Linked DNA regions of Homo sapiens: region 2 is linked to region 1. Evidence: promoter capture Hi-C in human tissues and cell types (Jung and others, 2019). All regions are on one chromosome and are shown on one strand. The core of a region is centred on a gene start or on the middle of the fragment in contact, and the rest is flanking DNA. Distances in the headings are between cores, read along the strand shown.

Region 1 (3,160 bases), core at 177-2,676:
CAAGGTGCTGGGATTACAGGCATGAGCCACAGTGCTCAGCAGCAAATATAATGTTTCCCAAGAAGTGTGATTCCTAGGAGAAAGGAGAAGGTAGTTTGGGTGGAAGAGATTGGGTGGCTTTGTTCTGTTCAAAGGATGGGCGAGACTATGTTTGTGGGAGAAAGATTTAGGTTAGAGGAAGAAATTAATAATGGGGAAAGAAAGAATAGCTGAATAAAATCTGGGAATGGCTGGGATCCAGGGCACAGGTGCAAGATTTAACCTTGAGGAGAAAGGGCACTTCTTGCTGTGGGTGAGGGAGTGAAGAGGGTAAGATGAATGAAGGTACAGGATAGGCATAATAATGAAGAGCCTGGATTTAAGGGTGAAGCCACTGGCTCACATTATAGAGGAAAGGCTAGGAAAGCCGAATTTTCTGGGGCCAGGTCCAGATTTAATATATTTAAGTATAACAGTCTTAATTCATTCCTTTCACCTTATTCAGTGCCCTGGGTGTGCCAAATACTACTGGGCACTGGGGTCTACAAAGGTACGACTTTTCATGTAATGTTGGAATTTGTTATGTTGGTAACTCGAGATTTGCATATATTTAACAGTCTTAATTCATTCCTTTCACATTATTCAGTGCCCTGGGTGTGCCAAATACTACTGGGCACTGGGGTCTATAAAGGTACGACTTTTCATTAATTTTGGAATTTGTTATGTTGGTAACTCGAGATTTGCTTTTCATTCTTCTGGAAGGCTGTATGTAGAAATAAATACAGTCATCAGACGAGTTCTTTGTCAGACCAGATGTCCTGGGTTGGGGTTTGGAAAACATGGGCATCTTAACAATGGTGCCCTGTTTGAGGTGGAGAGGGAGGAGAGGCCCAAATCGGGGAAAGGAATTAAATGGAGGTTTAGACGCGGGTAACCGGAGTGGGTGGGCCTTCAACCTGGAAGATGGGAATCCCCAGCGCACTTCGGGCAGCGCTGTAACCAAGGGTAACCGCACCTCGGTTTACACCGGTGTGAAGACCAGCCTCTTCCCCAAACCAGGTGTATCTACGGCGGCCTAGCAGGACCACACACAAGCCAAGCACGTCACGTCATTCGAGCTACCTTACCGCGAAAGTCCACTGCCTCCTACTACTTCTGGTCACTACTACCTTTGCTCACAGTTTATTAAGGAGGAGCGGAGAAGAAGAGGGGCGGAGAAGGGGCGGGGAGAATCACCTTTCCTTTTTTACAATTGGTCGTAGTAGACTCCGAGTCCTGCCGCCCGTCCTGCAGCCGACAGGCTGCCAGGACTGTCACTCGAGGAGCTGCCGCTACCGCCCCCCGCCGTGGCCCCGCCCCTTGCCGTGGCTGGGATCTCGCGGGAAGAGCTGCGGGCACGGCGGTGGCTCGGTCTCCCGGCTGCGCGCGGAGCGGGAGGGCTCTCCTCACACAAGCGCTTCCTTGCCGAGAGGCTGGAGCTGCGGCACCGCAGGCCTGAGCCACCCCTTCTCTGCTGTCTCCTTCTCTTCCTCAGGGCTCCCGTGTCTGCTCGCCCTCCGACGCTGCTCAGGTTAGAAAGCCCGGAGCGCGTCTCCGCTGAGGAGCGGTCGGGGAGCGGGGACACGGAGCAGCCGGAGCAGGCGGGCTCCTGACGGGGGCGGCTCTGGGGGCTGCGCGGCGCTGCCTGGTGGGCGCGAGGCTTGGCGGGGTTTGGGAGTCCGGGGGGCGAGGAGGCGGTGCAGTGGGATCCGGGCGCGGGCGCCCAAGGGCGGTGTAGCGGGTGCCGGAGCTCCCGAGGTGAGGGGGCAATGTATTAGGGATCCTGGGGGCTCTTCCGGCTTGGGGTAGGGGTGGGTGGCGGCACACGGGGTCCTAGGTCTTTGACGTCGAGGGAGATTTATCAGGGTCTTGAGCTTCTTGGAGGTGGTGTAGCGGGGTTCCGGGACAAGGGGTCTTTTTACCCGGGTCCCGAGCTCTTTGGGGCAGAGAATGCAGTTTAGCAAGGTTTACACCGGTGTAAACCTTGTCTCTGGAGGCAGATCATCGGGGTCTTGGGGGTTCTTTGAGCGGGCGTGGGCGTCCGTTTCGCATTGCTGGGATGAAGAAGCAGTGTGTCCGGGTTCTGGGGAGAGGGGTCTGTTCATCGGTGTCTCCGGGTGAGAGAGCGATGTATCCGTTCCGCTGGGGCCGGGGCCGCCTTGGGGGGTTGTTGGGGGCTGAGGGTGTGTAGCGGCGACCAGCGTCTGGCCGGGGTTTCTGCTTTGCCCGGAGCGGGGCGGTAACTTGGCATGGTCTCCAGTCTTTTGGGGGCGACGGGGCGAGTTAGCTGGCCCCCGGGCAGTCTCTCGGGGTGGGCGCGGCTCCGCAGGCGCTGGGTCCGCTGAGGGCGGGAGAGGGCTTTGGTGCTACCGCGCAGGCTGGGCAGCATCCTGAAACGTTTTTGTTCAGGTCTCCTTCTCTCTGGATGAGATTTACTCAATGCTTAGTTGGAGGATTGATCGGTGTTGTTGCCTAGTTGAAGAAGCAGTGCGTTTGTTCTGCAGTTTTCTTTTCTCTGCCCCGGGATCCCTGTGGGGGCGCGCTGGTCTCGCTGGAGCTCCGGGAGCTAGAGTGGCAGCACCTTAGGTGGGCGTTTGGTCTGCAGGTTCTTTAGGAGGCCGGTGTCCGCAGGTTGAGCGTGGATACAGCTCCTGAGCAACTGGAATCTGTTGAGGGTGGGGAAGACTGATTTTGGCTTGCTTTCCTAGGTGGTGGTCTGCTTTGCTCATCCTGCATGATTAGATCTGTTCTGAAGTCTTGCCTGAGTGAATGTTAGGCAGAGTCGGATAGTGCAGGGAAGCGTGTTCTGTCTGGCTTCTTTCTGTCCTTTGAAAAGCATTTGTAGAGAGGGATAACGTCAAATTCAGCCTCCAGAAAACAATGGAATTTGAAATCCCAAAGCTAGAACTCTGCAAAAACGTTTTCTGTGACCTGTAAGGATGGTTAATCGAGCTTTTTTAGAGAATTCTGCTTAACAGTTTCATTGTATTGTAAAAGTGTATTTAGCCTTGGATATTACAGAGGTTTTGGTAACTAGCGTAGGCGTAGGTGGGATTTAAATAAAATGACTTGTATGTATGTGTATTGGTTAAAAAAAAAAACAGCGTATAGGTGAGAAAGCCTATGTGTTTGCCTGACATTT
Region 2 (3,025 bases), core at 41-2,540, 180 kb after region 1:
ACATAGCAAGCAATATCTATAAACATATGTAACAAACATCATAAAACAGTACTTACCTTTACTCTGCAATACACTGATATTTTCTGTCTATTCTTTTCCATACGATTCTATCTTTAAATGTTAATCATGACTCACTAAATAGATTTCACGATCCATTGAGAGGTTGTGACCTGCAGTTTGGAAAGCACTGTGTGAGCAGACATAATCATGGCTTTAATGAATGGCAAACTACTTGGGAGTTGTTTATAATCTTGCTGAGGTGGGCATTTGACCCATGCTGCAAGGAGGCTGAAGTTCAGGCACGTGTCATTCAGCTGATGAGTGACCTCAGCTTTCCCCCAGCTCCCTGCCCTGTGAGTTGGCCGTTTTCTTCCCATGGTGGATTCAGGCATTGGCATGGCGGGGTGAGCTTCTGGTCCTTCCAACTCTAGGACCCATGCACATGTTCCCACTGTTCGTTAGAGACCTTCCTTATTTTTGACTTTGCCAGGCCCTCACTGAGTGACCTCAAGCAAGTCATTTCCTATCTGAGGTTCTCAGATATAAAATAGGAAGAAGGGTGGATTGAACTAGTCTGCGCTTCTCACAATAGTGGGGGAGGCAGTTTGCAGCAACAGGATGTGTATAATATGTATTTTTTTTCTGGAAGATTTGGAGAAAATAAATTTTTGTATTAAAACAACTATAAATTATGGAGCAGACTACAAAAAGCACGTGCTTTTTAATGATACTTTTTTATTGTGGTAAAATATACGTAACATAAAATTTATCATGCTAAGCACTTAAAAATGTGTAATTCGTTGGTATTGAGTACATTCACATTGCTGTGCACCTATGACCACCATCCATCTCCACGACTTCTTCATCTTCCCAAATAGAAACTACGTATCCCTTAAACACTAATTCCCCATCCCCTCTACCCGCCCCCGGCCCCCCTGCCAGACTGTCTTTACGTAAATGTCTCTAAAATTTGCCTATTCCAGGCATGTCATCTCAATGGAATCATACAATATTTGTCCCTTTGTGTCTGGCTTATTTGACTTAATGTTTTCAAGCCTCACCCATGTTAAAACATGTATTAGAATTCTATTCCTTTTTTTTTTTTTTTTTTTAAAAAATAGGGTCTTGCTCTGTTGCCCAGGCTGGAGTGCAGTGGTGTGATCACAGCTCACTGTGGCCTTGTTCTCCTGAGCTCAAGTAGTCCCCCCACCTCAGCCTCCAGAGTAGCTGAGATTACAGGCATGAACCATCACATTGGGCCTTTTATTCTTTCTTAAGGCTGAGTAATATCCTGTAGTATAGATATACCACATTTTGTTTATCCATTCATCTGCTGAAGAGCATTTGGGCTTTCACCTTTTGGTCATTGTGAGTAATGCTGCTATGAAAATTGGTTTAGAAATACCTGCTTCAGGCCGTCGCACCTGTAATCCCAGTACTTCGGGAGGCCAAGGTGGGTGGATCACTTGAGCTCAGGAGTTTGAGACCAGCCTGGACAATATAGGGAGGACTCATCTCTACAAAAAATACAAAAATTAGATGGTGTGGTGGCATGTGTCTGTGGTCCCAGATACTTAGGAGGCTGAGGTGGGAGGATCACTTAATCCCAGGAGGTCAAGTCTGCAGTGAGGCACTCCAGCCTGGACAACAGAGTGAGACCCTGTCTCAAAAAAAAAAAAAAAACTGTTTCAGCCCCTTTCACTTCTTTTGGGTATATAGATAGAAGTGAAATTGCTGGATTATATGGTAATTCTGTTTAACTTTTTGAGAAACTGTCATACTGTTTTCCATAGCTATTGCACCACTTTACAGTCCCACCAGAAATGCATTAGTTTCTATTTCTCCACACCCTTGCCAATACTTACCTTCTGTGTTTTTTGTTTTGTTTTTTGATAGCAGCCATCCTAATGGCTATGAAGCGGTATCCCATTATGGTTTTGAACTGTGCTTCCCTAATGACTAGTGGTGCTGAGAATCTTTCCATGTGCCTATTGGTTGTTTGTTCTTTTATTATTATTATTATTATTATTATTATTATTATTATTATTATTTCTTTTATATTGGTTGTTTGTATATTTGGGGAAAAATATCTATTCAAGCCATTTGCCCATTTTTGAATTGGCTTGTTTGGAATTTTTTTGTCAAGTTCTGGGAATTCTTTATATATTCTGGATATTAGTCTCTTATAGACATCTGATTTGCAAATCTCCCATTCTGTGGGCTGTCTTTCACTCTCTTGATAGTGTCCTTTGATGCATACAGGTTTTTAATTTTGATCACATGTTTTAAGGTAAAACGTGGTCTGAAAGCAGCTGGGGCCCCTGCTCCTAGGCTCTGCCTCCCTCCATCGTCCCCCAGGGTGCTATTCAGTCCTTGGAGGTGGTGAGGACTGCTGGGGCCTTCTGGCACAGTGATGGGATCAAGACTTGGCCTCATTCACCTCCTGGGCTCTGTGCTGTTTTCTGTTCACATGAAGGAGATTAGACAGGAGCCCCAGGGGAGGGAGAGGATCAGAAGTGTGGCTCAGCCACCCAGAGCCTGCCTAAACTCAGGACCTCCCCTTCACCTCTCACTCTCTGTTCTTCTCCAGCCACGCTCAGACCCTGCACCTTGCAGCACTGGCTAAAGAAGCCAGCTCCTCCTACCACATGCAGGAGGCATTCAGACCACTCTGAGATAAGCAGAAAGGTGATGCTGGCTTCCCTGTCCTGACATCTCCTTGCTTCCTTCTCACAGAACCTGAAACCCCTATGTTAACCTTGCTTCTTTGGGTCAAATGTATGACCACTTGTCTGAAATGCCTTTAACAAAATCCAGACATCCGGTGGTGATTTAGACTGGATGGCTTCTCAGAAGCTTCCCAGTCTCATGTTTCCATTTTAAAGCAAGCATGGAGAAATTTCCTACCAAACAGTGTTCTTTGCCTTTGTTTTGCATTACCCGACTATGAGTTGAGTATTTTGTTTTCCAATATATTTTTCAGGAACAAAGAAGTGGCATCACAGCTGGGTGTATCCAGAGCTTT

Evidence for each region. Contacts are between HindIII fragments. The study calls those that stand out against the background at their distance.
Region 2: a fragment that was not itself captured here is called in contact with the fragment with the promoter of GLCE in region 1 in 1 of the 25 tissues and cell types used here (mesenchymal stem cells).

Annotation. Positions count from the first base shown.
Region 1 is chr15:69,159,209-69,162,368 of GRCh38, forward strand. GLCE (glucuronic acid epimerase) reads left to right here and starts at 1,427. Exons shown (of 5, transcript NM_015554.3): 1 at 1,427-1,549. It also overlaps the pseudogene LOC100421574. RefSeq lists an enhancer at 1,089-1,589 and silencers at 1,287-1,496, 1,697-1,806. The HindIII fragment of the contact is 12,441 bases long and covers 1-3,160 here.
Region 2 is chr15:69,340,261-69,343,285 of GRCh38, forward strand. The region is part of intron 2 of PAQR5 (progestin and adipoQ receptor family member 5); the gene reads left to right. Among named protein-coding and RNA genes, the nearest start is that of PAQR5, 43 kb to the left of the region's middle. RefSeq lists enhancers at 1,997-2,497, 2,498-2,998. The HindIII fragment of the contact is 5,737 bases long and covers 1-3,025 here.